Regions from separate parts of the Homo sapiens genome. Here region 2 is linked to region 1. The links are contacts of gene promoters, found by promoter capture Hi-C in human tissues and cell types (Jung and others, 2019). All regions are on one chromosome and are shown on one strand. Each heading gives the region's core, a stretch centred on a gene start or on the middle of the fragment in contact. The rest is flanking DNA. Distances are from core to core; before and after follow the strand shown. Region 1 holds the start of LRRC38 (leucine rich repeat containing 38). Region 2 has its middle 180 kb from the start of PRDM2.

Region 1 (6,824 bases), core at 1,232-3,731:
TGAGGTCATGGCTCTGTTTTATTTGTTGGGGGAAAAATTTAGAGGTGGCAAAGCTTGTATTTCCCCCAAGGGATGGGAGCTCTGGAATCTGAGATACCTCCCTGCTCCCTACAAAGCCCAACCATGTCTAGTTCTGCTGATATTAATGAAAAGAATGCTTACATTTGGATCCAAGGAACTTTGGGGGACACTCGAGGAAACAAATTGTTCCTGCCATCGCAAGATTTGTGGCCACTTTTATTGGCAATATTTCTCCAAAGACCTTTCAAATCATGTTCCCATACAAATACTTCCCCATGCGGCCCTCACGTTGTCTGTGGAAAGGAAGAAGAAAGGTATTTTTTCATTAGTTTCAGGATGAGGAAATCAAGGCTAGGAGTGGTATTTCTCAATAGGTTTGTTACCAAGAGCCCCTCTTAATATTTTAGTACCATGCATTCCCCTGTTTTGCAAGTCCTTGTCAACTAAATACTTGCATTTATTCAGTAGAAATTCATCTCTGTTTTTCTTAAAGTCACCTATGAATGCCGGTTCTGCACAAAAGGACTAGTGCTACCATTAAGTTCACTGGCAAGAATTGCAGTATTTAATCCGGGAGACCTCCTCAAAGATAAAGGCCTAATTTTCACCAGACTTTTTTAAATTTTGAAAAGACCTCCTCTTCATAGTATCTGGGGACCCAGGCTAAGAAGTCCCCAGAGAGATCAAGTGGCTTGTGAAAGATTCTGTGGCTAGTGGTGGGGCCAGGACCAGACCCAGGGTCTTGATTCATATAGGTCAGTGCTCCAGCCAACCAGACCACTTGGCAGGGAGGGCTTGTGTACACACCCAGACATACAGACACGCGGGCATGCACGTGCAAGATGGCAGCCCAACCAAATGCGGGTGTCATGAAACCATGATGCTAAGGGCTCAAACCAGTAATAGGTTCCCCTCAGTACAGGAGGGAGCAGGCAGAACCAAGCCTGAGATTGGCAGAGTGCAACAGTTCGGTTCAGGCTGCTTTTGCAGAGTTGCAAGGGTGGGAGATGTGTTTATTCTGCCACCTGCCTGCACTTTGTGTGACTCTTCAATAATTTATACATCATTTATGTAGGCAGAAGCATTTTCATCCACTCTGGGAGCATTCAGACCACTCCTCCCGACACCTGCCTCTTCAAGAGCATGAGACTGGGGTGGGGAAGCTGAGCCCTTGAAGTTGGGGATGGCAATGGCAAATTGGGCACCCTGGGAGAGTGGAGACAGAGACGGAGAACTGAGGGAGGTCTGGCTTAGTGGCCTGGAATGTAAGTAGGGGAAAAGCTGCAGGACTCCAGGTGCCTCAAAGCTTCCCCCTGGGTCTCCCCCGCCTCTTCCCCAGGGCTCCTGCAAATATGCTCATCTGTTGAGCCCTTGGCTCCATCCCAGGGGATCAGTTTTTTCATCCCATGGCTCAGAGGCATCAAGTCGGCCTGTACCTTTGGAAGAAGGCCGAGGGCTTAGCTTTATGGCTTCAGAATCCGAGGCTCCACCAATCCCCAGCATGGCCAGGGGCCAGGGAAGGGTCTCTGGGAGCCTGCTGCCCAACAGCTGTTCCCTGGGTTATTTTGGTCTAGTGGGAGTCTGTCAATTCTAGGGCATTTGGACCAAAATAGCCAACAGCGGGACAATCTCTTGGTAGCTCTGTGGGGACCCCTCCCCATATAGAAGTTTCTAGAATGAGGTGGGACAGAAAGAAAGGAGTTTGGCATCGGGGTGGTGAAGAGGGAATTTTCCTGCCAGTGTCAGAGGCTGACATCAGCATTTCCTCACTGTCCTTTCATCTCAGCCTTGGCACGTTCCTGACTGCCTCCCTAGGCTATCCAAGGTGGGGTTTTGAGGGGGAGAGAGGAAAAGATAATTTTTGAACTTTGTTCTTGACTTCTTGGTCCTCCCCCAAAGCTGATGAGATATATATTACCTTTTTCCATTTCACAAATGGAGCTACCAGGTCCACAGAGGCAGAGGTACTGGTCTGAGGCCACACAGCTTGGAAGCCAGGCCTGGTGACTCCAGGCCTCAGAGCCTCAGCAGCTGGACCTCTCAGACCAGCAGCTGATCCTTGCATGGATGCCAGTTCCATCCAGAAGTTCGGGGCCGGCATGGAAAGTGCTGACTGGCCCTGCAGGCCACAGCGGGGGCCCTGGCAGCCACTTGCCTCGCTCACCCTCCAGCCTAAGATGGTTCAAGTGCAGGTGGGGGAGGGAAGAGGGAAGACCAGTCACTCACTCTCTCCCCTTGGAACCCCGCCCAAATTCAGACCAGCAGACCCTGGCGCGGCACCCGAGAACCTGCAGGGATTGCCCCCGGAGCAGAGTCAGAGTGACCCAGGTCCCACTCCCTTTGGCGACATAGGGTGGCGTGCAGGGAGCGTGCTTTGGCACCAGGCGGGCGCGAGGGGGCAGGGCGCACGCCCGGGACACGCCTTAGGGAAACCGCTCCTGGGCTTGGTAGCTGAACTTAGACGTCGAGTGCAGCCCGCCCGGTGCGCGCGGCGTCTTACTGCCAGATCTCGGAAATCAGCTGCCAGGGTGGGGCCGCGTTTTGGCGACGGCCACTCGGCCACCCCTGCCGCTCCCGCCTCTCCCAAGAGATTTTTCTAGCGGGTTAATTTCCTGTCCGGGTAAACCCTTTGGTGAGTCCCTCGCCCCTCCCTCCCCGCCCCTCCCCTCTCCATCCCTGCTGTCCCGGCTCCCCAGTCCGTCCGCGCCGCGCTCCATCGCCCCCGCACGCCCGGGCGCACGCCCTCCCCGCCCGGGCCGCCCTCTGGCTCCCCGCGCCCGGCAGCCAGTGCCTCACCGCGCCGTCCCGCGCCAGGGCTCGCTCCGAGAGCCGCTTCCTTCTCGCCGCGGCCGGCGCGGGCCCCCCGGCCATGCGCCCCCGAGCCCCAGCCTGCGCCGCCGCGGCGCTCGGGCTCTGCAGCCTTCTGCTGCTGCTCGCGCCCGGGCACGCGTGCCCCGCGGGCTGCGCCTGCACCGACCCGCACACCGTGGACTGCCGCGACCGCGGGCTGCCCAGCGTGCCAGACCCTTTCCCCCTGGACGTGCGCAAGCTGCTGGTGGCCGGCAACCGCATCCAGCGGATCCCCGAGGACTTCTTCATCTTCTACGGCGACCTGGTCTACCTGGACTTCAGGAACAACTCGCTGCGCTCGCTGGAGGAGGGCACGTTCAGCGGCTCGGCCAAGCTCGTGTTCCTCGACCTCAGCTACAACAACTTGACCCAGCTGGGCGCCGGCGCCTTCCGCTCGGCCGGGAGGCTGGTGAAGCTTAGCCTGGCTAACAACAACCTGGTGGGCGTGCACGAGGACGCCTTCGAGACCCTGGAGTCGCTGCAGGTGCTGGAGCTCAACGACAACAACCTGCGCAGCCTCAGCGTGGCCGCCCTGGCCGCGCTGCCCGCGCTGCGCTCCCTGCGTCTGGACGGGAACCCCTGGCTGTGCGACTGTGACTTCGCCCACCTCTTCTCCTGGATCCAGGAGAACGCATCCAAACTGCCCAAAGGTGAGCCGAGCCGGCTAGGCTGGGGGAGGGAGGGAGGGGGGCAGGGAGAGGCCACCCCAGACCCCAGTCTGGGTGGGAGGAGCCGTGGGTTGAGTTTGGAAGAGGAGGCTTGGGGGATCCTGAACTTTTCCTGGGTCTCTGCTGGGGAAGTGGGTGGAGAGGGACGCATCTGGAATTCTTTGGAGTTTCTGAACCCTGAGGCTGTACTTCTTCCCCTGTTTCTCCAGTAACTCACTTTACCAAGTTAGGGACCTTCCCCTTCTCGGGATGCCCAGGATCATCTCCCTGGGCTTTGGGTCCTAGGACTGGCGGGTGTGGATTACTTATGCGTCCCTGGTAAGCGGAATGCAGCCTACTCTATGGGAAACGGCCGTATTCTCAGTACCGTGCACGGGGAGTCAGCCAGTTCCAAGGGCTCTCCAGCAGCTTCCCGAGCCTAACCTGGCCTCTCAGCTTCTCAGCTCCAGTTTGCTCTTCTGTCTAATATGGGTGAGGAAGATTTCTGATGTGGAATAATGGCAGCCCATTAAGAGCCAATGATGCAGTAATGATTTGTAGTTCTCTGTGGCTTTTCAGCCAGATGTGAAAAAGCTGAACCAAAATGTAGAGGGCTGGTGCCCCCTTTGCTTTCCTGGTGCACGCTTCCAATGGCGGCGTGGGCATAAAAACTCACTTGGCAGATGGGAACACCAGGGCGGAGGGAGTTAAGGGGCTCCATTAAGGCCCGCAGGAAGGGAGCACGGGTGGAGCTGAGAAGGAGGGGACCCCAGCATCCACAGGGATGAGCACCCAGAGTGAGGAGGCAGGTGGCAGGTGGGTGTCCTTCCCCCAAGTGGATTCCAGCCTCCCACTTGTGACCCTGTGAGCACCAGTGCCCGCAGTGACCTCTCAGAGCTGAACTCTGCCTCCTGCCTTGCTCCCAAGATTTCAGCAGAATTGGGACCACAGCTGCAAGGCGCACATCATCAAAGGTGACATACATGCAGATTTAGCTTCAGAATATTTTTTTTTCCATTTACGGAGAAATCAAGGATGCTGTTCATCTGTGTGCTGAACTCCTGCATTCATATCTTCATTCCCAACTGTCATCAAACACACCCCATGCTTCGGGGTGCTCACTCTTCAGCAAATGCAGGCCCCTGAGCCATCACTTTCAGCCCAGGCTGGCTGAAATTCCTAAAACGATCTGGCCTGCAGGGTGCAGAGTCCCCACCTTTAAACTTTGTCCTCATCCACTTGTCTGGTTTCCCAGACCCTGCCCACCAGTAGACTCGGTCCTGGAGACAGGAGTGACCGGATGAAAAGCTCATGGTGGGATGGGGTACACCTCGGTTCTGCTTGCTTCTGCCTTTCCTTTTCAGTGGGGTTGGCACCATTCACCCCTGTTGTTGGTTGGGTTGGTTTATTGGCTCCAGTTGTCTTCCAGGTGAAGGCAAGGTTTTATGAAGTCAGGAGCTGTGGGTTTGTCTCAGTTCTGCCATGGTGACTGTGACCTTGAACAGGCCACTTGTCCCATTTGGGCCTCAGTTTCCTCATCTCTAGAATTCTTGCGTTGACCTCTGAGATCTCCAAAGAGCCCTGGATTTGGAATCTGAAGACATGGATTTAAGTCCTGGCCTAAAATCTGGGGGACTCTGGGTGGGTCACTCCAGTTTTTTAAGCTTCACCTTTCCCTTGAGTGAAATCAAGACATGGGTAATGCTGCATAGTCCATCCCACCCAGTGGTTGTCGAGATCCAAACAAGGTGATGTGAGTGAAAGTAACGAGCAATGGAAGTGAAATGTTCCTCCTCCTGCTGTCTGTGATGTGGGGAAGAAACTGGACTCAGATAGGAAAGACGGGAGGAAGGATGGACAGGTTCAGAGCAAGGAGCCATGTCCAGAGCCCTGGGAACAGGGTTTGGGGGTATGGCTTTGTCTCAGCCAGTAGGGAGAGGACGGACACAGCTCCAGGGCACCTCACAGGGTGCAGTGCCATGAGCAGCTCTGGTCTCACTGCCACTGTCCATGCTGTGTGGCCCGAGAGTATCTCCTAAACTGTAAGCCACATGCAGGGTGGGTGGTGGAGGTTCCAGCAGTTACCTTGAAGTGAGACCCGCATTCAGGTTTGGACTCAGGTTTATAATCTTAGGCAAGTCCCTGACCTCTCCAAGCCTCAGTTTCTTTGCATCTGGATTCAGAATGTGGTAATGGTGTCCTCTGCCGTGCTTGCTGTGAGATTTAAATGAGATTATCTCTGTAAAGAACACCGTCTTGCTTGGCGTGTGGTAGGTGCTCAACAGGTGTTCCCCGCCCCCTCCCTCCTCCTCCTGCATTTGTGCTTTTTCTACTTTTCACAGAGACAGCTCAGAGCCCAGACTGGCACCAAGCTGCTTGCCTTCAAATCCTGCCTCTACTTCTTACTGATTGTGTGATCTTTTTGTACCCGTTTCCTCATCTGTAAAATGGGGCTGATACAGTATCCACCTTCTAGGCTTGTTAGGAGGATTAAAAGGGCATTATTTATAAAGGACCGAGAACAGTGCCTGGCTCACAGTATATACTATGTAAGTGTTTTAATTGGCGCTGTTGTTATTATCCTGTTTTGACTAGAGAAGCGATGTAACTTGCCTTAGATCACACAGAGAGTTAAACCCAGAGCTGGGGGTGCACCAGGATCTCCTAGCTCCCAGTACCTCCTCCGTGAGGACCACCTACTTCCTGCCGGAGAAAACCAGGCTCCATGAGGGTACAAGGTCCAGGGCTTTCTAGGCAGGCCTTCTGCCTCTTCCGGGGGAGGAAATTGAAGGAAGGAGCAAAGAGGATCCTACCCTTGCTTTCCCTTGCCTCCCTGCCCCCTTGTCCCCCAGAGAAGCAAGACAGAGCCCAGCGAAGTGGGGAGGAGATAAAGACACAAAAGTGGGGAGCACCGTGGTGTTTCTCAAAGCGTCACCTGAGAACCACCTGCATGAGAATCGCCAGGGGAGCTTGTGTGAAGTGCAGATTCACAGGACCCCAGATCTACGACTGAATGAGGGCCTGGGGGTAGGGGGCTGAGGCCTGGGGATCTGCATTTTAGCAAGCTCCACACCTCCAGGGGATTCCTGTGCATGGGGCTTTTCGCTGGCTCTGTGGTGCAGTAACTCACTCATGGTGGGACTGTGTATAAGTTGCCTGTCCTCTGTGCCTTCAATTTTTCTCTTATAAACAAAGAGTGTAGGTAGGAGGACCGTAAGTCTCCTTCTAAGTCTAAAGTTCTACAGTTTTAGGGAAGGGGACATTGACTTGGTTTTAAAAGTTGGGAAGTCAAGGCCTGGGGAGGCA
Region 2 (6,641 bases), core at 2,071-4,570, 370 kb before region 1:
ATCTGTGAAGTAAGGAGGGATGACAGAAATCCCTTAGGGTCAGAGCCCAAGTAAGATGAGTAAAGGCATTCACACAAGAAGCAGCAACAGCAATAGGAGATTGGTTACACAGGATGAGATTGGGCAAATAAGTAAACATACTGAGGATAATGGGAGCCAGGTCTCACTGTTAGAGACAAGGGAAAGCTAGAATGAAATCTGTGATGCTGAATAGAAATTATAAACATTGGTATAAGCTCTTGGTTTTTAATCTATATATAGTCACATAAATAAATCTAGATTTAGATGTATGTGTGTATCCATCAGAATATACATACTATATTCCCTAATTCTGTCCACTGAGAGGGCCTGGGAACAGAGATACCCCAATAGCAATGAGCTATCCTAAAAACAAGATCTATGCTCTAAATATCATTCCTCTGCTACAAGGAACCAGAGCTGATTGGTCCAGGGCTGGTGCATGAAAAACACAAAGATATCTTGACATGTTGTTTAGCCAGAAAGCAAGGAACTTCTCCAAGATGGATGGAGACATTCCAAAAACACACAGTAGCCAGCTTGAAGAAACCCTCACTGGCCAAATCAAGAATAATTTTTATATAAAAGTGATGATAATGAATTAGAACTCATTGAATAGAAATCTATATGTCCATATGGATAGATGGATGGATGGATGGATGGATGGATGGATGGATACATAAATATATCCACAAATAAATGCATAGAGAGATAGAAGAAAAAGTTCTTCTTTATAGTCAAATGCCAACCAATAGATGCACAAAATGATGGACTTGGAAAATTGCCATTTGACAGCCTCTCATAGTTATAATTCAGGCAGGAAATGTCAACGAATGCTAAATCTAGTGGGTGAAAGCTTGATGAGAAACAGTAAACTTACAGCTTCAAACTCTGTCCCCATAAAATCTTTATTAATCACAAAAAGTAAAAGGAGTGACTTTACAGTGGGCAAACCTGGAAGACACTATCTTAATCAAAGTTAGTTAACAAAGTTAACATCATTAGTCATAGGATAAATCAAAACCATGTACCACCTAAAATGATGCAATAAGAAAACTCAGCATCACTTCTGCAGTATTCCTGACAACAATCTATTACTCGCAACGAATCAGGAAAACGTTTTATAAACCCACACTGAAGAACAGCCTACAAAATAACTGTCCTATAATTTTTTAAAGTGGCGAGTTCATAAAAGTTAAGGGAAATCTGAGGAACTGTTCCAAATAGAAAGCAAGTAAAGAGGCAACCGGACTAAACGCAGCCTGTGATCCTGAATTGTTCCAATAAAACTTGAATGGAGCTTGCAAATTAGAGTAGTGATGGATCAATGTTAATTCCTTGAATTTCATAGTTGTGCTGTGGTTAGTAGGAGAATGTCCTTGATGTGTAGGAAACACACACTAAAACATTTGGGAATGATGGAGCATCATGTCTACAGCAGACTCTCAAATGACTTGTGGGAGAAATGTTTACTATACTATTCTTTCAGTTTTCCTACAGTTTAAGAAAAACAATTAGTTGGACAAAGACAACATGGTCAAAAGGCAAGAGAAACAGACAACAAAAAGAAAACCACCAGGCCAGGCACAGTGGCTCACGCTTGTAATCCCAACACCTTGGGAGGCTGAGGTGGGCGGATTGCTGGAGCTCAGGAGTTCAACACCAGCCTGGGCAATAAGGTGAGATACTGTCTCTACAAAAAATACAAAAATTAGCTGGACATGGTGGTGCACACCTGTAGTCCCAGCTACTGGGGAGGCTGAGGTGGGAGGATAGCTTGAGCCTGAGAGGCAGAGATTGTAGGGAGCCAAGATCACACCACTGCACTCCAAGCCTGGGCAACAGAGCAAGACCCTATCAAGAAAAGAAAAAGAAGAAGAAGGAAGGGAGGGAGGGAGGCAGGGAGGGAGGGAGGGAGGAAGGAAAGAAGGAAGGAAGAAAGGATGGAATGAAGGAAGGAAGGAAGGAGAAGGAAGAAAGGGAGGGAAGGCAGGAAGGAAGGACCACTAGCAATCCAGATATCAGACACAGTCCACAATAAGTTTGCTTAACATGGTTAGGGAAATGGAGCAAGGTACAGGATTTGGGGGAAAAAACTATAAAAATTTACCAAATCGATATTAGACACAGGTGGAAAGAATTAGTGAAATGGTAGATCAGTCAGAAGAAAGTCAGAGTGAAGCACAGACAACAGGATAGGAAAGATAGAGGAAAGGACGAGACATAGGGATTCAGTTAAAAGGTCTGACATGGGTTTAACTGTCATCCCAGAAAGGGAGGACAAATAAGAAAGAGAGGATGAAGAAAAGAAGTAGGAGAAAAGGAGTAGAAGCAATATCAGGAGAAACTGTTAATACCTCGGATGGTGAATTGTATGTGTCAACATGACAGGGTTAAGACTATACAATTCAGCAGGTCCCTTTCTGGCAGGGTTGGCAGGGACGTCAGGAGTGAACACGCATTGTGAACCTGGCACATGGGTGACAGGATATGATGCTTCTGCAAACTCAGCTGACCCTTAAAACATGCTCCATCCAGAGCATCTGCAAGGATGAAGGGGCAATGGGACAGACTCTAGGCAGTATCCGTGCCCTTCAAAAAAGAAAGGACCCAAAACTCAACCCCTTTCAGGAGTCAGATCAAATCTCCTCTTGCAAGAAGCTTTTGAAGGGGTTAAAGGATACTCAGATAGCTGGTTACTTCTGGGTGTGTTGGTGAGGGTGGTTCTGGAAGAGGTCAGTGTCTGCATCAGCAACTGAGTAAAGAAGGTCCACCCTCACCTATGTTGGGTGAACATCATCCAATATGTTGAGGCCTGAATAGAACAAAAAAAAGAGAGAGGAAAGTAAACTCCCTCTCTCTGTGTCTTCTTGAGGAGCTGGGGCATTCATCTTTGCCTTCTCTTGGAGACTGGGGCTCCTGGTTCTTGGGCCTTCAGACTCCAGGACTTACACTAGCAGCCCCCACCGCAGTTCTCAGGCCTTCAACCTTGGACTGGGATATAACATTAGCTCCCCTTGTCCTCAGGCCTTTGGACTCAGACGGAATGACACCGCCAGCTTTCCTGGGTCTTCAGCTTGCAGACAGCAGATCATGGGGCTACTCGGCTTCTGTAATCATGCAAACCAAGACCCATAATCAATCTCCTCTTCTATGTCTATATATATCCGATTGGCGCTGTTTTTCTGAAGAACCTTGATCAATACAGCTTTGCAACTGTGTAAATTAACACTTAAAAAGCTCAATGAACCCTAAATAGGATAAATAAAAAGAAAATCATACCTAGGCTTATCATAGTAATAAGCTGAAAACCAATAACAGAGAAAGTCTTAAAAGCAGCTGTAGAAGTCAGGATGAGGAGAAAACAAAGAACTTTCAGTACAACAACAGAGACCCACATCTGACTTCAACGCCAACTAGGGAAACCAGAAGTCAGTGAATGAGACCTTCAAAGTGCTCAAAGAGAATAATTGCCATGTGGAACTCTATATGCATTGAAAATATCCTTCAATAATGTAGGTGAAATAAAGAAATTTTCAGACCAAAGAAATCTAGGAAAATTTAATACCAGCAGACACATCAAGAAGACACTAAAGGGAGTTTCTTCAAGGAGGAGAAAAATGAAGCCAAGTGGAAGCTCAGAGCCATGGAAACGAACAAAGAGCTGTGAAAAGGTTAATTGTGGCTAAGTCTAAATTAAATATAACTTAATGTTGACTATGAATTCATAATTACTAATGGTTAACATTAATTTATCTTATATTAACAGGTCAGTGATACACTGTAGGATTTAAAGTATATATAGAAATAAAATACAGAGCAAAAATAGCTTAGAAGTTGAAAGAAGAACAATGGAATTAAAATGTTCTAAGGTCCTTGCATTGTCCAGGGAAAAATAGAAGGATTAATTTATATTAGACATTAATAAGTCGAGGATACATACTACAATCTCTTGTATAACCACTGAAAGTTTATAAAAGCGTACAAAATCACCATACTAATAGGAAGGGAAAATGAGTATAAAAATAATCAATCCAAAAGATATCAGGAAAGGAGAGAAAAAAGAATTGTAAAGAAAGCTAGTATACTATGTTGCTATCAGACAAAGTAGACTTAAAAATTAAAAAAAAAAAAACCCAGTTCTAGCAATCAAAAACATCCTTCATAATAACAAAATGATCAATTTAACAAGCCTCCAAACATGAGCAAAAAATTGACAAACTGCAAAAAACTAAACCCAGAAGTGAAAAACTAAACAAAAAGCAAGCAATACAGAAAAATTGAACACAATTAACATATTGACTAACAGACATATATAATGGATCAGTTGTGCCTGACAAGTACAGCGTATACATTCTCTTCAGAAAAAAAAAAAAAACACAGAGAACATTACAAAAATTGTCCCTTTGCCAAACCTTAATTCACATCTCAAAAAGTGTCATAAGAATAAAGAGAATTTTTTTAATCTGATAAATAATTTGTATTAAAAAGCCTACAGAAAACATCCTTCACAACATTCATGAAATATTGAAAGCTTCCTCTTAAGATGAGGAATGAGACAAGAATGGCCACTATCATCATTTCTATACAACATTATACTGGAAGTAAAAGAGACAAGATTTGAGGTTTGAAATAGAAAAATAGAATTGTCACTATTTGCAGTTGGCATGATTGTGGTAGAAAATCCCAAAAGAAAAGTATACAGATAAATTATTAGAATAAACTTAGCAATGTTGCTACATAAGCATAAGGTACACGTTAAAATGTAAATTATATTACTGGATGTGGAACAAAATAAACTTTAAGAAACTATAACATTAACATCAAAATATATCAAATAACAAGGAATAAATCTAACAAAAAGCCCTTAAGACCACTCTACAGAAATCTATGAGACGGGCAGAAAGGAAAGGAACCTAAACAAATGAAGACATGCACCACTGAGTCATAGTTTGATGACTCAATGTTGTAAAAACTTCAATTCTCCCAAATTAATCTACACATTTAATCAGATCAAAATTTAAGCAGATTTTCTGTAAACATTGACAAGATGATTCTAGAATTTAACTGGAAAGGCAAAGGGCCAAAAGCTCTTGGTGAAGGCCACCAGAAATGAAGACTTGTTCCACCAGATGCTCCAGACAGATAATTAAGCTTCAGTAGTTAGGAGAGCATGGTATTGGGCTAAGAATACACAGAGAGATCAATAATGAGAATAAAGTGTCCAGAAGCTGACTCACTATTGCATTAGGACAACACCATCACTGCAGGGCAGCGGAGATGCTTAATGGCGGTCAATCAAGTGGAAATTCATATGGAGAAAAAAAGTGAAAGTTGACCTCCACTTTACACCATAGATGGAAGTGAGTTACATGCAGATTGTAGATTTCAATGTGAAATCAAAACAAAACTTTTTTTTTTTTCCCCAGACGGAGTCTTGCTCTGTCACCCAGGCTTGGAGTGCAGTGGTGCGATCTCGGCTCACTGCAAACTCCGCCTCCTGGGTTCAAGTGATTCTCCTGCCTCAGCCTCCCGAGTAGCTGGGATTACAGTCGCCCGCCACCACGCCCAACTAATTTTGTATTTTTAGTAGAGACGGGGTTTCACTGTGTTGGCCAGGCTGGTCTTGAACTCCTGACCTCAAGTGATCCACCCACCTCAGCCTCCCAAAGTGCCGGGATTACGGGTGTGAGCCACCACACCCAGGCAAAACAAAACTTCTTGACAGTGATAGAGAATACCTCTATGGCTCTGGTAACGGTGGGCGGGCAATACTTCTTAAACGAGACACAAAAAGCACCAACCATTAGGGAAAAGATTGATAAATTAGATATCAAAGTTAAGAACTTCTCCCATTTCTGTGACTAGTCTTTCTACTCTCTTATTATTGTCTCTTGATGAAAGAAAGAAATGTGTAACACCTATAACCAAGAAAAGATTCATATTCTCATTATAGAAAGAACTCCCCCAAATCAATAAGGCAAAAAACTCAGTTAAAACATAGACAGGAATGGATGCAGTGGCTCACGCCTGTAATCCTAGCACTTTGGGAGGCCGAGGCAGGAGGATTGCTTGAGTCCAGGAGTTCGAGGCCAGCCTACACAACACGGTGAAACCCTGTCTCTATAAAAAATACAAAAATTTGCCAGGCATATTGGTGCGCGCCTGTGGTCCCAGCTACTCAGGAGGCTGAAGTGGGAGGATGGCTTGAGCCCAGGAGGCTAAAGTTGCAGTGAGCCGAGATTGCACCACTGCACTCCATCCTAAGCAACAGAGCCAGACCCTGTCTTAAAAAACAAACAAACAAACAAACAAACAAAAAAACAAAAGTAGACAGGAAACTTGGACAAGCATTTCACAAACGAGGGTATTTAAATGGCCAATATGAAAAGATGTTCACCCCCCATTATTCATCGGGAAAAGCAAATTAAAACCGCAATGAAATTCAAACACATACCCAACACAATAGCCAATATTGGATGGACAATTCCAAGTGTTGAAAAAGCTGTGGAGCAATAGGAACTCTCAGACCCTATTGGTGTAAGCATCAAGTCCTGCAAACACTTTGGAAAACTGTCTGCTATTATATTTTAAAGTTGAGCATCTATCTGCTCTATGACCTA

The links. The method cuts DNA at HindIII sites, captures the fragments that hold promoters and counts their contacts. A contact is called where the count stands out against the background at its distance.
Region 2: a contact is called between a fragment that was not itself captured here and the fragment with the promoter of LRRC38 in region 1, in 1 of the 25 tissues and cell types used here (lymphoblastoid cells).

What each region holds. Positions count from the first base shown.
Region 1 is chr1:13,509,660-13,516,483 of GRCh38, reverse strand. It overlaps LRRC38 (leucine rich repeat containing 38), which reads left to right and starts at 2,481. Exons shown (of 2, transcript NM_001010847.2): 1 at 2,481-3,521. The coding sequence starts at 2,891. It overlaps LOC107984918 (a long non-coding RNA gene), which reads right to left and starts at 3,264. Exons shown (of 3, transcript XR_001737896.2): 1 at 3,143-3,264; 2 at 1,940-2,193; 3 at 220-314. The HindIII fragment of the contact is 3,544 bases long and covers 691-4,234 here.
Region 2 is chr1:13,880,199-13,886,839 of GRCh38, reverse strand. No RefSeq gene overlaps it. Among named protein-coding and RNA genes, the nearest start is that of PRDM2, 180 kb to the right of the region's middle. The HindIII fragment of the contact is 3,085 bases long and covers 1,778-4,862 here.